5 separate regions of the Homo sapiens genome follow, and all the other regions are linked to region 1. The links are contacts of gene promoters, found by promoter capture Hi-C in blood cells and fetal thymus (Javierre and others, 2016). All regions are on one chromosome and are shown on one strand. Each heading gives the region's core, a stretch centred on a gene start or on the middle of the fragment in contact. The rest is flanking DNA. Distances are from core to core; before and after follow the strand shown.

Evidence for each region. Contacts are between HindIII fragments. The CHiCAGO score rates a contact against its expected background, and 5 or more counts as called.
Region 2: a contact is called between the fragment with the promoter of ITGAD here and the fragment with the promoter of SETD1A in region 1, in 1 of 17 cell types (neutrophils). The highest score is 5.4, in neutrophils.
Region 3: a fragment that was not itself captured here is called in contact with the fragment with the promoter of SETD1A in region 1 in 2 of 17 cell types (monocytes and total CD8 T cells); the score reaches 11.2 in monocytes.
Region 4: a contact is called between a fragment that was not itself captured here and the fragment with the promoter of SETD1A in region 1, in 2 of 17 cell types (naive B cells and total B cells). The highest score is 5.4, in naive B cells.
Region 5: a contact is called between a fragment that was not itself captured here and the fragment with the promoter of SETD1A in region 1, in 1 of 17 cell types (monocytes). The highest score is 5.2, in monocytes.

What each region holds. Positions count from the first base shown.
Region 1 is chr16:30,955,459-30,960,869 of GRCh38, reverse strand. It overlaps SETD1A (SET domain containing 1A, histone lysine methyltransferase), which reads right to left and starts at 3,116. Exons shown (of 19, transcript NM_014712.3): 1 at 2,906-3,116; 2 at 1,989-2,153; 3 at 1,684-1,779. The coding sequence starts at 2,138. RefSeq lists silencers at 2,408-2,497, 2,638-2,857 and enhancers at 3,458-3,587, 3,045-3,808. The HindIII fragment of the contact is 14,721 bases long and covers 1-5,411 here.
Region 2 is chr16:31,390,021-31,395,431 of GRCh38, reverse strand. It overlaps ITGAD (integrin subunit alpha D), which reads right to left and starts at 2,097. Exons shown (of 30, transcript NM_005353.3): 1 at 2,041-2,097; 2 at 1,091-1,196. The coding sequence starts at 2,071. The HindIII fragment of the contact is 1,676 bases long and covers 2,014-3,689 here.
Region 3 is chr16:31,373,971-31,379,381 of GRCh38, reverse strand. It overlaps ITGAX (integrin subunit alpha X), which reads right to left. Exons shown (of 30, transcript NM_000887.5): 21 at 2,467-2,583; 22 at 2,303-2,382; 23 at 2,117-2,200. Among named protein-coding and RNA genes, the nearest start is that of ITGAD, 17 kb to the left of the region's middle. The HindIII fragment of the contact is 1,195 bases long and covers 2,730-3,924 here.
Region 4 is chr16:31,330,358-31,335,768 of GRCh38, reverse strand. ITGAM (integrin subunit alpha M) reads right to left here. Exons shown (of 30, transcript NM_000632.4): 27 at 5,348-5,411; 28 at 5,164-5,265; 29 at 4,494-4,604; 30 at 2,892-4,133. The coding sequence ends at 4,062. Among named protein-coding and RNA genes, the nearest start is that of ITGAX, 22 kb to the left of the region's middle. RefSeq lists a silencer at 4,212-4,291. The HindIII fragment of the contact is 184 bases long and covers 3,141-3,324 here.
Region 5 is chr16:31,292,817-31,298,227 of GRCh38, reverse strand. It overlaps ITGAM (integrin subunit alpha M), which reads right to left. Exons shown (of 30, transcript NM_000632.4): 13 at 574-714; 14 at 274-483. Among named protein-coding and RNA genes, the nearest start is that of ITGAM, 36 kb to the right of the region's middle. The HindIII fragment of the contact is 613 bases long and covers 2,801-3,413 here.

The sequences.
Region 1 (5,411 bases), core at 1,867-4,366:
CAGCTACTCAGGAGGGTGAGGCAGGAGAATCACTTGAACCTGGCAGGCAGAGGTTGCACTAAGCCGAGATCACACCACTGCACTCCAGCCTGGGCAACACAGCGAGACTCCGTCTCAAAAAAAAAAAAAAAAAAAAAAAGAAAGAAAGAAAGAAATGTACACACTGAGGAATAAATATACGTGGAGAGAACGAGCTACAGGGCGATGATTTCCTAGCTCAGCCTTTACTAGGTAACTACCATGAACGAGGCACTGGAAATACAGAGATAGAAAGGAAGAGATTCCCATACAGAAAAGCAGCATGACATGCACATACAAACACAACACGACCCAGTGGCAGCTGACGCATACATGGTGTTCTGGAGCCCAGGGAAGGAAACTTTTGTACAGAGTATGATCAGGGAAGAATTCATAAAGATGGTGTCATTCTTACTGAGATTTGGGGATTAACAATTCATCAAATGACAAGGACCCCTGGAACATGGAAATATAAAACAACTTGGTGTTTTTGAAAAACCGCAAAGCGTTATGGTGTGGATGTAACACAGGGGTGTGGTGTCAAGGCGGAGGATAAGGCTTGGCCAGGTCAATAACCATACATGTCAGTGTCCCAAAACATGGACTTGGCAACAAAAGGAAAACAGCAGCGTAGTGAAGCCAAAGAGACAAATGACAGCAAGGCAGAGGAGAAACTGAGGCAAGAACGAAGGCAAGGAGACCAGGTGAAATGAATACCAAGGTCTACATTAAGTGGCAATGAGAATAGAAAGATGAAGAATAAAAAAGAAAAGAGCCAGGAGGATTCGGTGACCAACTGAGAGAGAAAAGGAGAGAATCACAGGCTGCCAGGCTGTACAGCTGAGTCGATGGTACTGCCACATATGAGTAGAGGGAAAATGAAAAAGGTAGGTTAAGGAGGTAGATAATTTGTTTTAAATCCCTTAAATCTGAAACATGTGTGGCCTCCAAATGAAACTGTCCCCCTACCAGGCATACAAGCCTAGAGATGTTGGCTGGAAACAGATACTTGGAAGTCATCAACATTTAGGTAATAGTTGAAGCTGTGGGTGTGAAAGAGATTGTCCAAGTGAAGTGTACAAAGTAAAAAAAAAAAAAAGAAGAAGAAGAATGAAGGGACCCCACAAACAATTTATTTAGAAAGGAAGAATAAAGAATCAGAGAAGGAAATGAAGAACCACCAGTGTTCCAGGCCCAGTTCAAGGCCTGAAGAATATCTTGTCTAGGGTGGAGAATAGGAGTCCTCGAAGGAAACAAGAGGGAAATGACATCGCCAAATGAGAGGCGGGGAATAGTGCTACCCAGGTAGGCAGTGGCCTTGTCACTCCCCTTGACTGTCAAGGAACTGGGAGATCCCACTCTTGTGTGCTATGATGCACTGTCTACGAATATACAGTGATAGGTATAGCAGCTAAAGAGTCTTTACCTCACCCTTCAAGAAGTCGACACCCCAGCCACCAGGGATACACTTAGGACACCTGACCTGCACCTTTCTGGAAGATTAAGTGTACCTCCTATCCAAAACAACTGAGTCTCACAGCCTCAGAGGTTGCTAGATCTGGCTGAGATCCTTTCATTGGAAACCCTTTTATTCAGCTATAGTGCCAAGACGCATCCTCCACACCCTCTTAGGACTACCACACCAGGAGCCCAGCAGACACTTACCTTAAACTTAGGGACTGGGAGGGAAAAGTCTCTGTTTTTGGACCTGACATGGCAACGGGGGTCTTGGAGGTCTTCGACTGGTATATACTTTGAGTCCTAGGAAGGAAAGCAGCAGCAGAAAGAGAGCTCAGGGTGAATCCAGGCTAGGGAGCTCCAAGCAGCCCATCTGGACACACACATGCAGAAGAGCTGGGTCCAACTGCCCACTTTCAAGAAGGCAGGCTACCGTTCTAGGTGCTGAACAGAATCACAGAGGACGGGCGCCTGGAGCTCCCCGGATGGCAACCAAAGACCCGGGCACTCACGTTGACACTGAAGTGGACTCCATCATAGCGGTACACCTTCTGAGAAGGCCTGCGCAGGGCAGGGTCCAAGGCAGGATCCACGATGAGCTTGTAGTTCCGCCACTGGAAGCTCGGGGCCTTCTGCCCATCTCCCCCACCTTCCTGATCCATCTTTGCTCATTTACACTGTTAGGGGAAGAGGGACACGCAAGAAGGATCAGGACTTGGGGCCTGACTCCCCTGCCTTTCCTCATTGGCTAGCCCCGATTCCAGGTTCTCCCATCACTCCAGTTTCCAACCCTCACCCTGACCCGGGGCTCCCCCGGATTCTCCCCCAAGTACCCTCTGTTTCGCCACAACAACCCAGCCTCTTTCCACCTCCCAACTCTACTGTCAGGCCCCCAGGCCCGTCTCGAGCCCCCTTACCTTCCCGCTCTCCCTAGCGCGCGCCCCACTTGGCCTCGGAGCAAGACCCCTCCCCCGCCCCCTGCAGGCCCCGCCCCCTCCCGCCTCCTCACCGGCCAGCGGCCCGGGCCGAGCCCGGCCACGGCTCCCACACACCCGCTCTCCTCCCCGCGCCCCGATCCTCCGGCCGAAAGGTGGCACCTCTTCGGGGCGTTGGAAACACCGCGAGACCGAGCCCGAGACCCGGCTTCGACCCCGAATCCGGGCGGGGGGGTGGGGGGAACGTGCACCGCTGCCCTCTCCTCCCGCCCCGGCGCGTTCTGCACCCCCCCCAGCAGGTCTCCGCGCACGCGCGCCGCGCGGCCCCACTCACCCGCTCCCGGCGAGCGGCTCCCCCTCCCCCCACCTCGCGCGGCACCTCAGCGGCGCGAGGCGGCGGCAGCGGCAGCGCGAGACCCGGCCCCGCAGCGGTGGCGGCGGCGGCGCCCCCCCACCACCACCTCCCCGGCGCGCGCACCAAACACCACTGCCACCTGCGCGAGGCCCAGCGGGCACAGGGTCTGCATTCGCACTTTCGCCACAGGCGCTGCCGGGGGACCCACGGGGCCGAGGGTAGCGGCTTCGCCTCGGCCGGCGCCCTGGGAGGCTCGGAAGTTGCGGCCCAGGGAGCTTGGAGATTGGCCGCATCCCCCGGAGAGTCGGCTTCGCCACGACGATCTAGATGCTGCGGCCCGGGACCTTGACGAATCGGCGGCGACGAAAGCTGCGACTAGTCCCTGAGGAAAAGGGGCGGGGCGGAGGGGAGGAGGCCAGCCAGCGCTGGGGAACCTTCAGTGGCGCGTTCTGCAGACGCAGATTCACCGGGCGGGCGGGGCGAATCGCTGGACAGGATGCGCGCCGCTTTGCTTCTCTTCCCCGTCCCTTCCTTGCACTGCCAAATTCTGAGAGGCTGCAGATTCGCCACTGTTCCCGGCCTCAGCCGTAGCCTCCCCTTCATCCGCCTTGGTGGAGTCAAGAAAATAACGGCCCGTTAGCCAATCCCTGCTGGCAGAGTCGACAACTTTTTTTGGATTTTTCTTACTGGCCCAAGTGAGAGAATAGCCCGCTTCTGTCCCTGGGGAAAATGCCTCCAGCCCAGCGCTCCTCTCAGAGTCCGATGAGAATTTTCAGCCGAGTATCGAGGGACCCGAGGAATTCTGAGGATCCGACCTGGCGAATCTGCGGATTCCGCTGTGGGCGGGGCCGAGTCAAGGGGCGGGGCCAGGGCGTGCAGAGCCTGGGACTAGGGGGCGCCTCCGGGAGGACCCACGAGGACTCACCCGGATGGGAGGGACGGCCGGGAGGTGGAAAAACACAACCGTGAGCGGTGACTCAGGCGGTTTGCCCCGCCTCGCACATAAATGCAGGGTACCTTTCCTTCCCGTTATTGCCCTTGGGTGTCTGGCTGCTTAGGATGCCCATTTGCCAGATGGGGAGAGTGAGGCCTGTAGAAGGTGCCCTACTTTGCCGTACTCAAACCCACCATTAGTGGTTAAATCCAGGGACCGCCTCAAGGTTTTCTGATGAGCCTAGTGGGGCCTAAGTGCCCTTAAATGGGCCTTGTAATAATAAACGAGGTCCTACAGGAACGGGACTGGACTGGTGTGTCCTCCTGGCGTCATGGTCCCACTGCCCGCTTCTTTGGCTATGGCGCCCTATGCTCACGGGATGCCTCCGCACAAGGGCAGCAGCGGCCCAGGCCTACCCCTGGAACTCGGGCTGAGGTTTCTGAAGGCTGGGCACCGTTTTGATCCCGTGTGGGCGCAGGCACTCCCAGGAGGTCCCTTTTCCTGAGCTGAGGATGCCCCAAGCTCCTGATATGTGTACATCAGGCCCTCGCTATATGGCCTTGGGCAAGTCATTGACCTAAGTTTCAGAGTCTTCCTTTAAACTTGGATGTCAATTTGTACACATCCGAACAGTGCAGAAAAGACCCTTAGAGCCTGGTTTATGCAAATTCACCATTTTAAGTAATAGGAAAAGGTGGAAGGGAGACTTATCCAAGGTCTCACACCACAAGATAGAAGAAGATTAGGACTCTACAATTTTGAGGGAAATAAGGCTGAAAAAAATAATTTACGTGGAGGCATAGGTGTTGAGATCAGATTCCTTTCTGTTCCAGTTGAAAGGCACTGGTTCCTTTTCTCAAATCAAAGAGAGATTCCCGTGTGAGGGGTAGATAGTCCAAGTTCAGTTTCATGGACTAGCTGTGTGGTTTTGGGCAAGATCTTCAGCCTTCTTGGGCCTGTTTCCTTATCTCTGAAATGAAAATGATAAAGACTTAACGCTTAAGGTGTTGTGAGAGTTAAATAAGATAACCTATGAAAGTCCCCTAGTATGTGGTAGTTGCTCAAGAAAGAAACTTGAGGCCAGGTGCAGTGGCTAACACTTGTAATCTCAGCACTTTGGGAGGCCAAGGTGGGAGGATCACTTGAGCCCAGGAGTTCAAGACCAGCCTGGACAACATAGTGAGACCCTCCTCTCTACAAAAAAAAAAAAAAATTAATTAGCTGGGTTGGTGGGACGTCCTGTGGTGCCAGCTATTTGGGAGGCTGAGGTGGGAGGCTCATGAGCCTGGGAGGTCAAAGCTGCAGTGAGCCAAGATTGCACAGCTGCACTCCAGCCTGGGCAAAAGAGTGAGACTGTCTCGGCTGGGCGCGATGGCTCACACCTGTAATCCCAGCACTTTGGGAGGCCAAGGCAGGGGGATCACTAGGTCAGGAGATCAAGACCATCCTGGCTAACACGGTGAAACCCCATCTCTACTAAAAATACAAAAACAAAATTAGCCGAGCGTGGTGGTGGGCACCTGTAATCCCAGCTACTTGGGAGGCTGAGGCAGGAGAATGGCGTGAACCCAGGAGGCGGCGCTTGCAGTGAGCCGAGATCATGCCACTGTACTCCAGCCTGGGCGACAGTGCAAGACAGAGCGAGACTCGGTCTCAAAAAAAAAAAAAAAAAAAGAGTGCTTATACTAAACACTCAGGGAGGGCTGGGTGT
Region 2 (5,411 bases), core at 848-3,347, 440 kb before region 1:
CAGCAGCTGATACCCCTTCACCACCCTTCAGGAGGCGGTGGGAGGTGGGGCTGCTGCTGAGCTAAGGCTCCAAACCCCCAGTGCATCTCCCTTCTCCCATGACTTTTTTTTTTTGACGGAGTCTCACTCTGTCACCTAGGCTGGAGTAAAGTGGCACGATCTCGGCTCACTGCAACCTCCACCTCCCAGGTTCAAGCGATTCTCCTGCCTCAGCCTCCCAAGTAGCTGGGATTACAGATGCCTGCCACCATGCCCGGCTAATTTTTTTTGCATTTTTAGTAGAGATGGGGTTTTGCTGTGTTGGCCAAACTGGTCTCAAACTCCTGGCCTCAGATGATCTGCCCGCCTCAGCCTCCCAAAGCGTTGGGATTATAGGCGTGAGCCATGGTGCCCAGCCCTGCCATCATTCTTTACTTGCAAAACACAAATGCACAGATAAAATTTTTAAGAATTGGCAAGACAGGGTGGCTCACACCTGTAATCCCAGCACTTTGGGAGGCCAAGGCAGGAGGATTGCTTGAGCCCAGGAGTTCAGCCAGTCTGGACAACATAGCAAGACTCCATCTCTGTAAAAAGTAAAACAAAACAAAACAAAAAACAGGCATGATGGCATGCACCTGTGGTCCCAGCTATTCAGGAGGCTGAGGTGAGAGGATCACTTGTGCCCGAGAGTTTGAGGCTGCAGTAAGCTGTGATTGCACCACTGCACTCCAGCCTGGGTAACAGAGCTGGAGTAAAAATAAAAATAAAAATAATCAGGAATTTCAAGAGGTCAAGGGCAGAACATTAAACTCCAAAGTTAATGAGTGTGGGCCCTGTGTGACCATACTGGCCCCAAGAAGTGGGCCCTGCCTGGGAGGCAGGTTCAAGGCTTCCCTCCCGAGGTAAGGTAGGGTCTTGTCTAGAGTTTTGTGGCCTTTCCTGGGATTGAGAATAATAGGTGCTGATGTCAGGGCCTCCAAGGAGCCAAGGGAAGACTTCTCACCCCTGCTGGCCTTCCTCCAGGACACCTCCCTGGGGTAACCCACGTGTACCCATCCACAGGACTTGATGTAGTGGAGGTTGGGGAAGGAGGGTGAGTGGGGCCTACCGAGATCCACCGAACTGCACCACGCTCTGCCCAAAGCCGCCTGCATCCTCCTGGAAGATCGTAGGCTCCTCCACATCCAGGTTGAATCCATGATAAGAAGCCAGGACTGAGGAATATTTGGTGGGCGGGGAGGCTGGGAGTTAAAGAAGCCCCAATCCCTAGGACCTCCCAGCCTCTTTTTCTTTTTTTTCTTTTTTTTTTTTTTTTTTTTGAGATGGAGTCTCGCTCTGTTGCTGAGGCTGGAGTGCAACGGCACGATCTCAGCTCACTGCAACTTCCGTCTCCTGGGTTCAAGCGATTCTCTTGCCTCAGCTTCCCAAGTAGCTGGGATTACAAGTGCACGCCACCATGCCCGGCTAATTTTTATATTTTTGGTAAAGATGGGGTTTCACCATGTTGGCCAGGCTGGTCACAAACTCCTGACCTCAGGGGATACGCCCATCTCGGCCTCCCAAAGTGCTGGGATTATAAGCATGAGCCACCGCACCCAGCCAAGCCTGATTTTTGATGGCACGTGAATGTGACTCTGATGCAGTTTTCAGCAGGGGGCCTCTTCCCTACGTGCAGTCAGGACTTGGGGGAAACAGGCCCAGGGAGGTGATGTCCAACCTTTCCCCCTCCCTGGTGGCTTCTGTGGCCTTCCACTCCCGGGGGAGGCTGGGGAGACCTCTGTCACCCACACCAGGGACTCCATGAGTGGGAGCAGGGAAGCCTGGGACAACATAGCCAGCTGGAGAGGTAGCTTAGTCGCCACCTGAGCACAGCCCCTGAGCCCCTCTTCATTCAGGTCACACTCTACTGACTCCGGGCCACTCGCACATGAAGCACTCCCCTGCCTCAGCTCCTCATAAGAGTGGTTGGAGCCGACCACCAGCCCCCAGCCTGCCCTCCCAGATGGAGTCCCCTCAGAACTCCTCCAAGCTTCTCCCCAGCACCCTGGCCCCACTTACCACTCAGAAGAAGCACAGTGCCGAAGGTCATCCCTGAGCAGCGCGTTGAGGGGAAGTGGAAGGTTGGGGACAGAGCACAGAAGGTGCTCACCCTCCCAGGGGGTAGTTAAAATAATGATTCAGGGCCTCCACACAGCAGGAAGAGGGGCACAGTGGGTAGGAGGGGCGTGGTTAATTATGGAACAGAAGTGGGGGCAGGGGCCAACAACACCCTGGGGAAAAACCCTCATTCTGTCCCCCTCCACAACCTGCAGGGACCTGGCTTCCTTCTCCCAGAAGACCACCCTCCCCCAGGCCTCAGGAGCCAGTTGGTACCCAGGGAGCCCCGTAGCTCTCTGAGGTCCCACAGGAGTGGAAGGACAGGAAGCAGAATGGCTGCAGAGGTCTTGGCATGTGGATGTGAGCCGGCAGAGAGGCAGGGAGAAGGGGAGCTAGGCCAGGGTGTGGTTTCAAAAAGCAGAGCCCCTCCAGAGGAGAATGGACACCCAAAATAATAAAGTCATGCCATGGGCTACTACTCAGCAAGAAATAAGATCAAACTACAGATCAGATGCCATGGCTCATGCCTGTGGTCCCAGAGCTTGGCAGGTGGATTGCTTGAGGCCAACAGTTCGAGACCAGCCTAGGCAACATAGCCAGACCCTGTCTTTACAATAAATAACAAAGAACAAACTGCAGTTCTGTACAACAATACAGGTTAACTCAATTTTATCTTAAGTGAAAGAAACCAGACACCAGAATGCCTAATGTCTGGTTCCTTTCATATACAAGAGAATGGGCAAAATTCATCTACGAAGATAGAAATCAGAAGAGTGGTTGTCTATGGTGGGGCAGAGAGGAAACTTTTTTTTTTTTTGACAAGTTTTGCTATGTCGCCCATGCTGGAATGCAGTGGCATGATCAGGGCTCACTGCAGCCTCAAATTCCCAGACTCAAGCAATTCTCCCACCTCAGCCTCCCAGTCACTGGGATTACTGATGCACACCACCATGCCCAGCTAATTTTTTTGTTTTTTGTAGAGACGAGATCGCACTATGTTGCCCATGCTGGTCTCGAGCTCCTGGACTCAAGCAATCCTCCCACCTCCTCCTCCCAAAGTACTGGGATTACAGGCGTGAGCCACCACATCCAGCCAGGAACCTTTAGCATGTGTTAAATTTAGCATTTAACACAATATTTTAATATTTATTACATGGGGTTGGGGAGAAGATAAATGAGTGGTTGTTATTTATTTTCTGTGATTTTTCTGTATGTTTGAAATATTCCATGATTAAACATAAAAGTTCCTTTAAAATGTGAAAAAGAAAAAGGTCTATATATAAAAGGCTAGGAATAGGCCAGGCGCAGTGGCTCACACCTATAATCCCAGCACTTTGAGAGGCTGAGGTGGATGGATCACCTGAGGTCAGGAGTTTGAGACCAGCTCTGGCCAATATGGTGAAACCCCGTCTCTACTAAAAATACAAAAATTAGCTGGGCATGGTGGTGCGCACCTGTAATCCCAGCTACTCAGGAGGCTGAGGCAGGAGAATCGCTTGAACCCAGGAGGTAGAGTTTGCAGTGAGTCAAGATTGCGCCACTGCACTCCAGCCTGGGCGACAGAGCAAGACTGTCTCAATAAATAAAAAATAAAAAATAAATAAAAAGCTTAGGAATATACTTTGAAGGTTAAAATATAACAAGATCCCTACCTATAACATAAATTATTTTGTATATATATGTGACAATTATTTAAAACATTTGGCTGGGCACAGTGGCTTATGTCTGTAATTCCAGCACTTTGGGAGGCTGAGGCAGGTGTATAGCTTGAGGTCAGGAGTTCGGGACCAGCCTGGCCAACATGGTGAAACCCCATCTCTACTAAAAATACAAAGATTAGCCAGGCATGGTGGTGCACGCCTGTAATCCCAGCTACTCAGGAAGCTGAGGCAGGAGAATCGCTTAAACCCAGGAGGCAGAGGTTGCAGTGAGTCAAGATCACACCACTGCATTCCAGCGTGGGCAACAGAGCAAGACTCTGTCTCAAAAACAAAACAAAATGAAACAAACAAAACATTTAAAATGTAATTAAACATCAAGTGCAAATAATATGAAATAGTTTTCTATACAAAAATTTTACATCAATTTACTTGAGAGCTGACATTTAATGGACAGAAGAAATTAATTGTGATGCATTAACGATGCCCTTGCAGGAAACCGAGCCGAGGGCTGTGATTGCTAACTTCGAGGCTGACTTATCTACTGCCTTACAAAGACTGCCCAGGCAAAGTGGAGCGGCAGCCTTCTCCCTCTTGTGCTGAAAGGTTTGTGGCTGGCCGCACCCTGTCATCAGTTCTGTGGATCTGTGAACTTCTCCCTGTATTTGGAACCACAAAATAATTTGTTGGTGATTCTTCATAATTCAGAAATTTAAAGAGCTCTTCATTTTCTCCATCTTCACCACACCTCATCTTTTACACATTTCTATATCCCCTTTAATTTTGGACTTCCTTCTGTAAGTAGTGCTTGAAACTCACGATTTGCTGATATCAGCAACTATAAAATTCTCCAACTTTCCCTAACTCGTATTATCGCTTGTCTCAGCAAAATTTTTTGTTTTCCACTCATGTTTGGAGAGCAATGATAAGGGCAAAATGCAGTAAGGTAGTCAAATGCTCACAATCACTGCACGCTGCCAGGAAATCATCTTTCTCCCAGGCCTGGAGCTGGAGCTGCCAAGGCTCAGAGTCCACAGCAGCTGAAGGTGATGCCCCCAAATTCAGGGCATCCTCTGGGGACTTGATGGCGGCTCCACCCTTAAAGGAACCACCAGCTCTCAGTAAATTTTTAATTAATTAATCAATTAATTTTTATTTTGAGATGGAGTCCTGCTCTGTCGCCCAGGCTGGAGTGCAGTGGTGCAATCTCAGCTCATTGCAACCTCTGCCTCCCAGGTTCAAGTGATTCTCCTGTCTGAGCCTCCCGAGTAGCTGGGATTACAGGCACACACCACCACACCTGACTAATTTTTGTATTTTTAGTAGAGACGGGGTTTTGCCATATTGGCCAGGCTGGTCTCGAACTCCTGACCATAGGTGATCCACCTGCCTTGACTTCCCAAAGTACTGGATTACAGCAGTGAGCCACCGTGCCCGTCTTCTCTCAGTAAGTTTTAAAAAGTTACACTTAGATAAATAAGAAAACAAGAATTTAATAATTGTTTTCAAATCAATGTGAAGGAGAATATTTTTGCAGCCTTTCTCCAGAATGAGCTGTGTCTGCCTGGAGAGCATAACTCCAGGTCCCCATGCCTTAGAGGCCACAGCCAGGATTTGGTTTTGTTTCTCCTGGTCTTCCCCTCCTCCCAGGAAATTTGGCTTTATTCTTCACAT
Region 3 (5,411 bases), core at 2,078-4,577, 420 kb before region 1:
ACTTTGAGATGCTGAGATGGGCGGATCACCTGAGATCAGGAGTTCGAGATCACCCTGGCCAACATGGTGAAACCCTGTCTCTACTAAAAATACAAAAATTAGCCAGGCATGATGGTGTGCACCTGTAATCCCAGCTACTCAGGAGGCTGAGACAGGAGAATTGTTTGAGCCCAGGGGACAGAGGTTGCAGTGAGCCCAGATCACGCCACTGAATGACAGAGCAAGACTCTCTCTCTCTCAAAAAAAAACAGAGAGAGAGAGTTTAGAGACCAGGCACAGTGCTCACGCCTATAATCCCAGCACTTTGACAGGCTGAGACAGGCAGATCACCTGAGGTCGGGAGTTCAAGACCAGCCTGGCCAACATGGAGAAACACCATCTCTACTAAAAATACAAAAATTAGCCAGGTGTGGTGGCAGGTGCCTGTAATCCCAGCTACTTGGGAGGCTGAGGCACGAGAATTGCTTGGAGCCAGGAGGCGGAGGTTGCAGTGAGCAGAGATGGTACAACTGCACTCCAGCCTGGGCAACACAGTGAGACTTGGTCTCAAAAAAAAAAAAAAAGAGAGAGAGTCTAGAAAAGCAGGGCTGGGCTTCAAACAAGTGCTAATTGGCTGAGTGCAGTGGCTCACACCTGCAATCCCAGCACTTTGGGAGGTTGAGGTGGGAGGATCACTTGAGGCCAGGATTCAAGATCAGCCTGGGCAACATAGCAAGACCCCATCTCTCCAAAACAATTTTTTAAATTAGCCAGGCATGGTGGCACACATCTGTAGTCTCAACTACTTGGGAGGCTGAGGTGGGAGGCTCGCTTGAGCCCAAGAGGAGTTCAAGGCTGCTGTGAGCTGTGATCACACCACTGCACTCCAGCCTGGGCAACAGAGCAAGACCTGGGCTTTAAAAAAAAAAAAATGAGGCAAAGAGCTCATAGCTGCCTGCAGAGGAGGCTGCCAGTGGGGCCGGGTAGTCGGTACAATGAACGGAGCAGAGAGCTCTGCCACTGACTGCAGGAGAGCAGGGGCCATGGCCTGCCCCTCCGCTTTCCTTCCATCCCTTTGTGGGGATGTAGGATGCCAGGGCTCTGTGGGACACAGCACAGAGTTGGGGTGGCCCAGGCTGACGCTGTTGACCAAATGCTACTGAGCATTGCCCCTTCCCAGTCCCCCACATACCTCCCCGGGGGCCCTTTTTTCCCATTTCCTTGGCTTTTCCGGGCCTGGGGCTTGGAGGGGAGGGAGGGCCCACAGCAGACTCTTCATGAGGTCTCAGTTTAACACCTCCTGAGCCCTTTTTGGGCACAAGCCTGGAGACCTGGTGGGCAGCTGGGACCATCACACAGGTGGCCAGTCTCACCACTGCCTCACTGCTTCACTCTTCCGGCACCTGTCCTCCAGCTGGCATAGTCCAAACACCAGCCCACCACGCCTACTCTGAAGCCTCATTCCTCCTCTGCCAATTTTTTGTAGAGCTAGGGTCTCACTATATTGCCCAGGCTGATCCTGAACTCCTGGCCTCAAGCAATCCTCCCACCTTGGCCTCCCCCAGAAATGCCCCAACCTGGCACTCCCTGTGCCCTAACCCACAGAGTCACACCTGCCATGTGTGGCCAAGCTGTGGATCACACCTGCCATGTGTGGCCAAGCTGTGGACCACACATGCCTAGAGTAGGTGAGCCCTGCCTGTGGGTCCCCTGCCAAGGGGTATGAGAGCCTGGGGCACACCCCAGCACACGAGCTCAGAGCGTGCACCTGGCTGGGAGCCTCCACGCATGCAGGTGCAGGTGAGAGTGGGAAACACCAGGCACAGGAGAACATCCAGCAAGGCACACCCCACAAGGGCGAGGGTTCATGTCTGGTTTTGATCACACATAATGGGGGCTCAGTAAATCTTCAATGAATGTCAAATGAATGTATGGAAAATAACCACAGCACCCTGCCTGGCACACAGCAAATTCGAGGAAGGCATTGGCTGAAGGAAGGTGTCTGCTGAAACACCTGACCTTTTAGTTTCAAACACCTTATCTCACCCTCTGTGGCAGCGTTTCAAGGCCTTTTTTTTTTTTTCTTTTTGAGGTCAGAGAGAAGAACCCTTTTTCCTGCAGTGGGGTACCTGCTGACCTGCTAACCACAGTGTAGACAGCATACTTCACCGGGAGCTCCAGCTGGAAGGTGGTCTTGCTGGTCCTGGGAGTGTTGTTCTCACTGGAGAAAGAGGAGAGACTCAGTTGCCAGAGGCCCCAGAGGAGGAGAATGGGGTGTGAGGCTGGAGATGAGGGGCACTGCCCCTGGCCTGGCCCGGCTCACCTGCTCACATTGGCTGTCAGAAGCAGCCGGTCTCCCAGGACAGCCTTGGGGGAGACGTCAAAGGTAGCCAAGAAGGTGATCTGAGGAAAAGGAACTGAGAGGTCACAGAGCAGTAAAGACAGGGTGGGGCAGGGGAGCAGTGAGGGGACAGAAGCCAGGCTGACCTGGGCGCCGCCACGGAAGATGAGGTGGTTGATTCTGCAGCTGGTGCTCCAGGTGCCCTGGCTCCCAACTGGGGCGCTGTCACATGTCAGGTGCAGGGAACGCAGCTGCCCTTGTTTCTAGGCATGAGAAAAAGTAGAGGAGTATTAGTTGAAATTGAAAGCAATGGCAAAAACCCAATTACTTTTGCACCAACCTAATATAACAGCATTCCAAAGACACGCCACGAAGTAGTGATAAAGCTTCCTGGAGCCCACCTTAAGCTTATGTTTTTGTTTGTTTGTTTGTTTTTTGAGACCAGGTCTCACTCTGTCACCCAGGCTAGAAAGCAGTGATGCAATCACAGCTCACTGCAGCCTCAAACTCTGGCCTCAAGCCATCCTCTTGCCTCAGCCTCCTGAGTAGCTAGGACTACAGGCACACACCACCACCATGCCTGGCTAATTTTAAAAAAATTTTTTTATAAATGGGACCTCGCTATATTGCCCAGGCTGGTCTTGAACTCCTGGCCTCAAGCAATCCTCCCATCTTGTCCCCCCAAAACACTAGGATTACAGGTATGAGCCACCATGTCCAGCCAAGGTTACGTTTTTAAAAGCTCCCCCATAGCTATCTGGTCAAACTTTCTTCCAAAGTAGAAATCTCAAATGTATTAAAATGTTCACCTTTTTATTGTTATTTTAAAGGCCTCTTATAATGGAAAATTTAAAACACATTAAAAAATAGAGAGACTGGAAAATCAACCCCATATAACCATCACTCATTTTAAGTAACCAACATTTTTCTACTCTTGTTTCTGCTATGTTCTCTTTCTGAACACTTTAAAGCACATTCCAAACACCATATTGTTTCATCTAGAAATACTTCAGTGTATACCACCAATAGATAAGGGTATTTTAAATGTAACCACAAGAACCAACAAATCACAGCCAACAAAATTAACAATTACTCCTTAATATACCAATATACTGGTCATGTTCTATTTTCTTAGATTGTCTCCAAAAATGTTATTTTACAGCTCATTTGTTAAAATCAATATTCAGCAAAGGTCCACCCATTACATTTGGTTGATATGTCTAGGAGCACTTTCATTGACAGTGATCACCCCTCACATGCAAGAGATGGCCTTTCCTGCTGTGTTCTTTTATACGTTAATCAAAATGCGCTTCCGCTGGGAATATTAGACTAAGAGAGACAGCAGAAATAACAACCAACCATCATGTATGGACCTAGTTCGAATTTTCGTTCAAATAGACCAGAAGTAAAAAGATATTTTTGAGACAGTTACACAATTTTGACTATGATCTTAATACCAAGGAATCACTTATTTCATTGGGTGTGATAATGGTGTTGAGGTCATATAAGAGGTCCTCATTGTTCAGAACTATAGAGTGTGTCTTTGTCTGTTCCCTGCTGCTATAACAGATTACCGCAAACTAGGTAATGTATCAATAGAAGCTTTGTGGTTCTGGAGGCTGGGAAGTCCAAGAACATGGCACCAGCATCTGGTGAGGGCCTTTGTGCTGCATGTGCAAGGCAGTGCATGTGAGAGTGAGAGGGAAAGGGGGCCAAACTCATCCTTTAATTAGAAACCCACTCCTGGGCTAGGCTCCGTGGCTTACGCCTGTAATCCTAGTACTTTGGGAGGCCGAATCGGGTGGATCATTTGAGGTCAGGAGTTCAAGACCAGACTGCCCAACATGGTGAAACCCCATCTCTACTAAAAATGCAAAACTTAGCTGGGCGTGGCAGTGGGCACCTGTAATCCCAGCTACTCAGGAGGCTGAGGCACAAGAATTGCTTGAATTCGGGAGGCAGAGGCTGCAGTGAGCCAAGATCGTGCCACTGCACCCTAGCCTGGGCAACAGAGCAAGACCCTCTCAAGGAAAGAAAGAAAGAAGGAAAAGAAAGAAAGAAAAAGAAAGAAGAAAGGAAGGAAGGAAACCCACTCCTGAAATAACTAATCTACTCTTGAGATAATAGTATTCATCCATTCATGAGGGCAAAGCCCTCATAACCTAATCACCTTTAAAAGGTTTCACCTTTCAACACTGTTGCATTGGGGATTAAGTGTCCAACACACGAACATTGGGTGATGCATTCAAACCATAGCAGAGTGAATAAGGAGGAGTACAATGACCCCCATGTCTGAGATTTGTTTTAAAATACTTTAGCAGGTCAGGCACAGTGGCTCATGTCTGTAACTCCAACACTTTGGGAAGCTAAGATAGGAGGACTGCTTGAACCCAGGGGTTAGAGACCAGTTTGGGCAGCATGGTAAGACCCCAACTCTACAAAAAAAATTAAAAAATTAGCCAGGTGTGGTGGTGTGTGCATGTGGTTCTAGCTACTCAGGAGGCTGAGATGGGAGGATCGCTTGAGCCCAGGAGGTCAAGGCTACAGTAAGCTGAAATTGTGCCACTGCACTCCAGCCTGTGTGACAGAGCAAAACCCTGTCTCAAAAATAAAGAAATAAAGAAAATACCTTAGCAAAGGGGAAAAATTGATGAAACAAATGTGGCAAAATGCTGCTAATTGTTGAATCTAGGTGACAAGTTTTGGGGAGGTTTGTTGAACTACTTTCTACTTTTGTAAATGTTTTAAATTTTTCATAATAACTTTTTTTTTTTAGACAGAGTCTTGCTCTGTTGTGCAGGCTGGAGTGCAGTGGCACAATCTCAGCTCACTGCAACCTCCGTCTTCCGGGTTCAAGCAGTTCTCTCACCTCGGCCTCCCCAGTAGCTGGGATCACAGGCACCTGCCACCACACCCAGCTAATTTTTGTATTTTTCGTAGAGATGGGGTTTCACCATGTTGGCCAGGCTGGTCTCAAACTCCTGACCTCCGGTGATCCGCCTGCCTCAACCTCCCGAAGTCCTGGGATTACAGGCGTGAGCCACCACTCCCAGCCATAATAACATCTTTGTTTAAAAAATCTGGTTCTCTT
Region 4 (5,411 bases), core at 1,983-4,482, 370 kb before region 1:
TATCTGGCTGAATTCAACACAAGCTTCTCATTTGAAGACGCGGAGGTGAACTCTGAGTTCACAGGACTTTAACTGCCCTGCAAAGACTGGCGGCTACAGGCACGGAGGCTGCAAGGACAGGCAACTACAGGTATGGAGGCTGCCAGGACAAGCAACTAGGTACGAAGGCTACAAGGACCAGCATGGAGGCTGCAAGGACAGGCGACTACAGACATGGAGGGTGAAAGGACAGGCGACTAAAGGTACAGAACTCTCTCTGTTCCCGGAGCAATTCAGGACTTCTGCAGATATTGAGGACTTTTATCTTTCAACATAAGGAAACACAGAAATTCTTAACAGACTTTATTTAAGTCAGGAGAGGAAATAGCAAAGAACCGTCTAAAGGTGACCGTGTTTTGTGTCACCCCCACAGATACAAAGGGCCATTGTCTCATTAGCCACCTTTTGAGGGCATCTCACTTCACTTTGAGTGAAATTGGAACTACTCACTCTGGCTTACAAAGCACTCATGCCCAAGCCCTGCCCACTCTCCCAGCCTCCCCTGCCCTCCCTTCTGCCTGGAGATCTTCTGGCCCTGCTTCAGTCAGGTGTCACCTCCCTTGGGGACCCTTCCTTCACCTCCCTAAGGAGTAAGCCCTCTCTCCTCCTGCCACATGTGAAACAAGTGTCCCTCTAAGCCATGATTTTCTTGTATTTCAATGAAGATCATGAAATTACCATTTTTTGGCTGGGCACAGTGACTCACACCTGTAATCCCAGCATTTCGGGAGGCCAAGGCAGATGGATCACCTGAGGTCAGGAGTTCAAGACCAGCCTGGCCAACATGGTGGAACCCCATCTCTACCAAAAATACAAAAAAAAAAAATTAGCCAGACATTGTGGTGCACGCCTGTAATCCCAGCTACTCAGGAGGCTGAGGCAAGATAATCACTTGAACCCGGGAGGGAGAGGTTGTAGTGAGCTGAGATCACACTACTGTACTCCAGTCTGGGCGACAGAACAAGACTCCATGAAAAAAAAGAAAGAAAGAAAGAAAGAAAGAAAGAAAGAAAGAAAGAAAGAAAGAAAGAAAGAAAGAAAGAAAGAAAGAAAGAAAGAAGGAAGGAAGGAAGGAAGGAAGGAAGGAAGGAAGGAAGGAAGGAAGGAAAGAAAGAAAGAAAAAAGAAAGGAAGGAAGGAAGGAAGGAAGGAGGAAGGAAGGAAGGAAGGAAGGAGGAAGGAAGGAAGGAAGGAAGGAAGGAAGGAAAGGAAGGAAGGAAGGAAGGGAAAGAAAGAAAGAAGGAGAAAGAAAGAAAGAAGGAGAAAGAAAGAGAGAGAGAAAGAAAAGAGAGAAAGAGAAAGAAAGAAAGAAAAGAAAGAAACATTTTTGTCCAAAAACATGTCATCAATTTCATATGCTTTAACCCAATATCATAACAGTTAAATAACAGCCACCCTCTCCCCACACTCCCTCATGCCTGTTCTGGGGCCATTCCTCTGAGGCTGTCAGGACAGTAAAAGAGAAAAGCTTTAGACCTAGGCAGAGCTGGGATTAACTCCTAGCTCCATTCCTTCCCAGCTGTATGACCTCAGGCAACTGGTATGATCTATCTAAGCCTAGGTTTCCTCATAAGTGAAATTCATGTAAATACCAAGGACTGGTGTGAGGATTAGAGAGGATGTATGTTCAGGCCAGGCTAGTGTTTACTGTGTTTGCAAAGTATGAGGGACAGGCACTGGGCATCCTCCCTCTGAGGAAGCAGCCACCAAAATGTCACCTGCACACACCTTGGCAGCAAGTGCTCCTGGTGCCCTGACCTGAACCAAAGGCACCGTGTCAGGGGCTGTGTTCACCTGTCAAACATCCAGCCAGCAGCACTGGTATCACTTTCTCTGGCCACTAGAGCCCACTCTCCTCACACTCAGGGCAGGCCAGAAGTGGTAGGAAATTAACACACTCTCCCCACCAAGAGCAGCCCTCATCCAATAGCTAAGTGGAATCGGTGTCTATGCGCTCCAGCCTTCTCCCCTGGGTGGGGTGATACTGAGGTGCGTGTTCTGCACTGCCTCCGAGAACTGCCCAGTGGGGTGAAGCTCCAGGAACTCACAGCAGCTTCTCTGTGGGTGATACACCTGTTATTGGCAGCCTTCCCTTCCTCGGTATTTCCTGGAGCCATCTCTTTATTTTATTTTATTTTATTTATTTTTTTTTTTTTAAGATGGAGTCCTGCTCTGTCGCCCAGGCTGGAGTGCAGTGATGCAATCATATCTCACTGCAACCTCTACCTCCCAGGTTAAAGCAATTCTCCTTCCTCAGCCTCCCAAGTAGCTGAGATTACAGTTGCCTGCCACCATGCATGGCTAATTTTTTTGTATTTTTAGTAGAGACGGGGTTTCACCAAGTTCGACAGGCTGGTCTCAAACTCCTGAGATCAGGTGATCCACCAGCCTCGGCCTCCCAAAGTTCTGGGATTACAGAGGCGTGAGCCACTGTGCCCGACCTTTATTTTATTATTTTGTTTATTTTTGAGACAGGATCTCACTCTGTCACCCAGGCTGGAGTGCAGTGGTGCGATCATGGCTCACTGCAGTCTAGACCTTCTGGGCTCAAGTAATCCTCCTGCATCAGCCTCCGGAGTAGCTGTGACTACAGGCATGTAACACCAGGCCTGGCTAAATTTTTTTAATTTTTCGTGGACACAGGTTCTCACTATGTTGCCCAGGCTAGTCTCGAACTCCTGAGCTCAAGCAATCTTCACACCTTCACCTCCCAAAATGCTGGGATTTCAGGTGTGAGCCACCATGCCTGGCCTGCCACCTCTTAAATACGCTTGTTTCACCCAAATTCTTGGGTTTGCTTCTGGGAGAACCCAAACTTCCAGGAACATATCCTATAAATTATCCTTACATATATGCAAAAATGACATATATTTGATTTATTAACTCAGCATTGATGCAATAACAAGAGAATGAAAATAGTATATCAAAAGAAGACTGGTTAAATACATTATGGTACACTCACACAATGGAATACTATGCAGCGGTATAAAAGAATGAAAAAGTAATTTATGTCTTAATATGAACCGATGTCTGAGAAATATTGGTGAAAAAAAGCAAGATACAGACCAATATAAAGTATGCTACCATTTGTGTAAAAAAGCTTGTGTGTGTGTATGTGTGGTGTGTGTGCACACGTGCATACACTTGCACATCGCCTGGAATCTGTCTGAAGGAAACCTCAAAACACAATCTTGACTACCTTTAAGGAGGTGACTTGAATATCTGGAAAGGGAGACTTTTCACTGTACACTTGAATGCCTTGTGATTTTTGTACCATAGACAAGCTTATCCATCCAAAAAATTAAAGTCACATTGAAATAATAAATGAATCCAGAAAGGAAGCTTCATCATTCCTCAGTGGGCATCTTTATTGGGCATCAGCGCTGGTGTGGAGGAGGTTCCTGGTTCCACCCACGGCTTCTCATGGAGTCTCCATCCAAGCTGCGCAGGCTCCAGCAGGCCGCAGGCTCGCAGGCGACGGGAAGTCCCACTTCTTTCAGTGGAGAGAAGCTGCTGTGTTTCCCTCTGTCTTCACCCACAGGATTGACCGTCCCCTCTCCCGGAGGAAAACCCAGCAGCGGCTTCACCCACGCACAAGGGAGCCCAGGCAGTTCCCTTCTGCCGGAGAGGCTACGCTGCCGTCACCTACCCACACGCCAGAGACATCTGAGTCACACACGTGAGCCACACGCCCCTGAGCACACACATGCACACACTCGCACACATGCACACACTTGCACACACATGGACACACGCACACACACTTGGACACACTCACATACTTGCACACACTCACACATGGGCGTGCAAGTGCACATGCACGCACACGCACACATGTGCACACACTTGCACACAGACACTTGCACACACGCACATACACACTTGCACACACACAAATGGAAGCCCAAGCCCGTCCTGTCGGGGATACTTCGCTGTCCGACGTGTCCAGCAGCCTGGGGGCTACGTGTGGTCTGGGCAGAGTCCTGCTGGCCACCGAGAGGCAGCTCTGTCGGGAAGGAGCCGCTACTGGGGTTCGGCCCCCGGGGGACCCCCTTCACTCATCATGTCCTTGTATTGCCGCTTGAAGAAGCCGAGCTGCGGGGCAGAGGAGGGCAGTGAGAGCGACAGCAGCCAGGGAGCGTGCGGCTCCGCAGACCAGGGGGAGGGGGCGGGAGGGCCGGCAGAGACAGAAGGGACCCAGGAGGGCGGGGCGGGAGGGGAGTGACATCCGCGTCGGGGCCTGGAGAAAAACAGAAACTACAAGGAGGGCGACTCGTTCTCAGCGCGCCCCGCGCATGAACCCGGCCACCCTCCCTAAGAGACTGAGGCGCAGAGAGGCTCCCAGACTCGCCCCAGTCACACAGCTGGCAGCCCCGCCGGGGAAACCGAGGCACGGAGCTGCAGCGCGAGGCCCGAGAGGATGAAGGGAGGGGGTGGGGGAGCAGCGGGGAGCACCTTGTACAGCGCGGCGGTGATGAGGGCCAGGAGCAGCAGTCCCCCGACAGAGCTGCCCACGATGAGCGGCAGGGGGTTGGGGACCTCGAACGGCTCCACTTTGGTCTCCGTCTGGGGGAGGAAGGAGGGGCGTCAGGGGAGACGACTCTGGATTTCTGGGGGTTCCCCATTCACACCGTGTGCACCCCTGAATCAAGTGGGGAACCCCTCCTCATGTCCCCCAGAACCCCAGCCCTCAGTCCTCCTCCCCCACCTCTTCTCCCTCCTCTCCCTCCTCCGTTTCTCTGTCCTCTATCTCTCTCTATCGCTTTCTGCCTCTCTCTGTCTCTCTATCTCCATGGCTCACTGTCTCTGTCTCTGTCGCGCTCTGTATCTCTCTCTTTATCTCTATCTCTCTGTCTATCTCCATCTCTCACTGTCTCTGTCTCTATCTCTATCTCTCTGACTCTCTATCTCTCTCTCCTTTGTCTGTCTCTGTGTCTGTTTCTCCCTCTGCCTCTATCTCTCTGTCTCTGTCTGTCTCTCTCCTTACGTCTCTGTATCTCTCTGTCTCTCTGTCGCTCTGTCTCTCTCTCTCCCTCTCTCTTTGTGTCTCTCTCTCCTCCCCCAGAAATCTCCACAAGCGCAGCCCCTCTCCCTCCAATAGTTCCTCAGCGCCCAAGACAGGTACCTGGGACCTCACAAACGCCCCCTGTCCCGGCAGCAGGGTGAACACGGAATCGTTAAACAAGATCTCAGCTGTGCTCACGATCAGGAGGTGGTTATGCGAGGTCTGTGGAAGAGAGCGGGTGGGCACTGCACCTGGGCCCTGAGCACCACGCCTGTGCCCGGCGAAGCCTCAGGACCCCACACACCTTGATGTACCAGTCAAACGAGAGGTTGCCTTTGAGGGTAGCATTGAATTCTTCCTGGATGCCA
Region 5 (5,411 bases), core at 1,858-4,357, 340 kb before region 1:
TTTTTTTTTTTTTTTTTTTTTTTGGAGAGATGGGTTCTCACCATGTTGCCCTGACTGGTCTTGAGCTCCTGGGCTTAAACAATCCTCCCAACTCAGCCTTCCAAAGTGCTGGGATTACAGGCGTCAGCCACCAGGCCCAGCCACATGTTATTATTTTTGAAGGTTCTGAAAGGAGTACTGTGAGAACTTATCTGGCAGCTGTGGGCACACTGAATTAGGAGAAAGATCAACAAAGAGGCTACTGTCATGACAAGGACAGTGACCAGGTCTCACCTGGCTATGGGAGGGGCTGATGCCAGATCCTGAGGTTCCGTGAAACAGGTAAACAGCACCCCGGTTGTCCTCCTCTCCTGGGGCCCCAATGGCCACGTCCGTCAGCTTGTCCCCATTTACGTCCCCCAGCACTGTTAGGGCTGCCCCAAAGCGGCCCCAGGGTTGGCCCTGCTCCCCGTAGAGAACAGCATCACACTGCCACCGAGCCCTCTGCTAAACACAAACAGTATCAGGCCCCAACCCAGGCGACCCCTCCACCCACACCGGGCCCCACCCAGCCCAGGTCCCATTGCCACTCACCCCCCTGGGCAAGGGGCACACGGACACCTGGCCCCCTCGGGTCTGCTCGTAGTAATGGGGGGCCCCGATGAGGACCAGGTCGGTGCTGCCGTTGCTGTCCACGTCCACGGAGCAGAGGGAGGCCCCGAAGTAGGCGCCGATCTGAAAGAGACAGGACCGTAATCACACACCTCTTCCCACCTAAAGCAGATGTGGAGGTTTTCTCTCTCTGAAGAAAAGTTATGCCTGCTGGGGGAATCCCTCTGGAGCAGATGTGATCTTCTATATGGTTCATGATAAATTATCACTTGAATGTGCTGCCAGCTAAAGGAACCTATATAATAAGCCTGGCAGAATGGTTTCTGCCTGTAATCCCAGCTCCTCGGGGGGCTGAAGTGGGAGGATCCCTTGAGCCAAGGAGTTTAAGGCTGCAGTGAGCTTTGTCACCACTGCACTCCAGCTTGGGCAACAGAGCAAGATCCCAATCTCTAAGTGTATATATATATTTTTTAATAATTTAAAAGATAAAAAATAAGCCTATAGTAGAGTCAATGGGCAGTGAGTGAGGATTTACTCCAGGTGGTATTCCTGGGAGATTATTAAGGCAGCAAAGAAGAATTTGGGTTGGAAAATACATAGAAAATTCTAGAAGAGAAGACAGAATACCACCCTTTCAATATATTGGGAATCTTTAGGGAGGTAAAAAGTCAAAGTTGGCACTCTGACTAATAAGGCTAATAACTGGCTTAGATTAAAAATAACTATTTGTTATTTGAATATTTGTTGTGATATTAAGAAATATCTTCAAGGTCAATATGTAGAATTCATCCATAAAATTCACCTATTTAATCATACATTCATTCATTCATTTATTCATTCATTCAACAAACAAGTGTTTCTTATTGCTAAGCACACAGCTGGGTAATAGAGATACAGTGCCTTCCAGGGCCCTCAGTGCAGCCAGGTGGAGGAGAGGAGAGTAATCAATGGATTAACAGGGAGATGTGTATAGCAATTTCAAACTGGGACAAGTTCTAGAAAGGGAATGTGCAGGGGACATCATGCCACGGCTCTGCAACGTGATTTCTGCCTCATACACCATTGAGGGAAGACTCATTGATAACTGAATACTTTATCCTAAAGTCAACAGAATTTGATTGTTTTTTAGGTCAGATTTATTGGGGAAGAGTTTACATACAATAAAATTCAGCCTTTTAGTACATAGTTTTATGAGTTTTGACAAACATATAAAGTCATATAACCGGCCAGATGCAGTGGCTCATGCCTGTAATCCCAGCATTTTGGGAGGCCAGGGCGTGTGGATCACCTGAGGTCAGGAGTTCGAGACCAACCTGGAAATCATGGTGAAACCCCATCTCTACTAAAAATACAAAAAAAAAAAAATTAGCAGGGCATGGTGGCGGGCGCCTATAGTCCCAGCTACTCAAGAGGCTGAGGCAGGAGAATGGCGTGAACCTGGGAGGTGGAGCTTGCAGTGAGCCGAGATAACGCCACTGCACTCCAGCCTGGGCAACACAGAGAGACTCTGTTAAAAAAAAAAAAAAAAAAGATAAAAAGATAATAACCATGATCAAGTGTGATTTATCCCTGGGATGCGAGATGCAAGGATGATTCCACATATGCAAATCAATTAATGTGGCATATCACATTAACAGAATGAAGGACTAAAACCACATGATCATCTCAATATACGCAAAAAAAAGCATTTGACAAAATTCAACATTCTTTTATAATAAAAACTCTCAATAAATTCGCTACAGAAGGAATGTACCTCAATATGATAAAGGCCATATACGACAAGCCCACAACAAACATCATACTCAATGGTGAAAAATTGAAAGCTTTACCACTAAAATGAGGAAAAAGGCAAGAATGCTCACTCTCACTACTTCTATGTAACATAGTACTGGAAGTCCTGGTCACAGCAATTAGGCAAGAAAAATAAATGAAAGAGACCCAAATCAGATATAAAAAAGGAAATTTGTCTCTGTTTACACTTAAAATGATATATATATAAAAACATATATATATAAATATATTTTTAAAAAACCCTAAAAACTCCACCAAAAAAGAACTACTAGAACTAATGAATAAATTCAGTAAAGTTACAGGTTACAAAATCAATGTGAAAAATCAATAGTGCTTCTATACACTAACAATGAACTATCTGAAAAAGAAATCAAGAAACAATCTCATTTACAATAGCATCAAAAAAAATACCTAAGCTTAAATTTAACCAGAGAGGTGAAAAACATGTACACTAAAACTATAAAACATTGATTAAGGAAGTTAAACAAGACAAAAATAAATGGAAAGATATCCTATGTTCATGGACTGGAGTATTAATGCAATCTTCTGATTCAGTACAATCCTTATCAAAATCCCAATGGCATTTTTTTACAAAAATAGAAAAAAAACTAAAATTTATGTAGAACCACAGAAGACCCTAAATAGCCAAAGCAATCCTCAAGAAAAAAAATACTGGAGGCATCATAATTCCTGATCTCAAAACATACTGTGTCAAGAAAGCTCTAGTAAGCATAACAGCAAGGTGGTGGCATAAAAACAGACACATCAACCAATGGAACAGAACAGGGAGGCTAGAAATAAAACTATGCATTTATGGTCAATTGATCTTCAATAAAGGTGCCAAGAATATGCAAAGGAGAAAGGACATTCTCTTCAACAAATGGTGTGGGGAGAACTGGATATTCATATTCAAAAGGATTAAATTAGACCTTTATCCCAAACCATATACAAAATCAACTCAAAATGGATTAAAGACTTAAACACAAGACCTGAAACTGTAAAACTACTAGAAGAAAACAAAGGGAAAAGCTTCTTGACAATCAAGCTTCTGAGAAATGATTTTTTGGATATGACCCCAAAAGCACAGGCAACAAAAGCAAACCAGACAAATGGGGTGGCATCAAACTAAAAAGTGTCAGCTTAACAAAAAAAGAAAATTTCAGGCCAATATTCTTGATGAACACTAATGCAAAAATCCTCAACACACTACCTGCAAACCAAATCCAGCAGCACATCAAAAATCTAATCCACCATGATCAGGTAGGCTTCATTCCCGGGGTGCAAAGTTGGTTCAACATATGCAAATCAATAAATATGATTCATCACATAAACAGAACTAAAGACAAAAACCACATGATTATCTCAATAGATGAAGAGAAGGCTTTAATAAAAGTCAACACCCCTTTATGTTAAAAATTCTCAATAAACTAGGTATTGAAGGAACATACCTCAAAATAATAAGAGCCATCTACAACAAACCCACAGCCAACATCATACTTGATGGGCAAAAGCATTCCCCTTGAAAGCCAGCACAAAACAAGGATGCCTTTGCTCACTAGTCCTATTCAACATATTATTGGAAGTTCTAGCCAGAGCAATCAGGCAAAAGAAAGAAAAAAGGGCATACAAATAGGAAGAAAGGAAGTAAAAAAGTCAAACTATCCCTGTTTGCAGACAACATGATTCTATATTTAGAAAACCCCATAGTCTTGGCCTAGGAGCTCCTTCAGCTGATAAATAACTTCAACAAAGTTTCAGGATACGAAATCAATGTACAAAAATCACTAGCACTCCTATACACCAACAAGAGCTGGGAGCCAAATCAGGAAGGCAATCCTATTCACGATTGCCACAAAAAGAATAAAATAACTAGGAATACAGCTAACCAGAGAGTTGAAAGATCTGTACAGTGAGAATTGTAAAACACTGTTCAAAGAAATCAGAGATGACACCAAAAAAATGGTAAAACATCTCATGCTCATGGATAGGAAGAATCAATATCATTAAAATGGACACACTTCCCAAAGCAATTTATAGATTCAGTGCTATTACTATTAAGCTACCAATGACATTCTTCACAGAACTAGGAAAAACTATTTTAAAATTCATATGGAATCAAAAAAGAACCTGAATAACCAAGTCAATCCTAAGCAAAAAGAACACAGAAGGAGGCATCACATTACCTGACTTCAAACTATACTACAGGGCTACAGTAACCAAAACAGCATGATACTGGTACAAAAACAGGCACATAGACCAATGGAACAGAATAGAGAGCCCAGAAATAAGGCCATACACCTATGACCATCTGATCTAAGACAAAAATAAGCAATGGGGAAAAGAATTCCTATTCAACAAATGGTGCTAGGATAACTGGCTAGCCATATGCAGAAGATTGAAACTGGACCCCTTCCTTACACCATATACAAAAATCAACTCAAGATAGACTAAAGACTTAAATGTAAAACCCAAAACTATAAGAACCCTGGAAGACAACCTAGGCAATACCATTCTAGACACAGGAATAAGCAAAGATTTCCTGACAAAGACACAAAAAGCAATCTCAACAAAAGCAAAAATTGACAAATGGCATCTAATTAAATGCAAGAGCAAAAGAAACTATCAACAGAGTGAACAGACAACCTAAAGAATGAGAGAAAATATTCACAAACTATGCATCCAACAAAGGTGTAATATCCAACATCTACAGGGTACTTAAACAAATTTACAAGAGAAAAACAACGCCATTAAAAGGTGGGAAAAGGAAATGAACAGACACTTTTCGAAAGAAGACATGCATGCAGCCAACAAGCATACAAAAAAAGCTCAAAATCATTATCATTAGAGAAATGTAAATCAAAACCACAATGAGATACCATCTCACACCAGTTAGAATGGCTATTAGTAAAAGTTAAAAAATAGATGCTGGTGAGGTTGTGAAGAAAAGGGAACACTTATACTGTTGGTGGGAGTGGTAAATTAGTTTAACCACTTGGGGAAAGCAGTATGGCAACTCCTCAAAGAGCTAA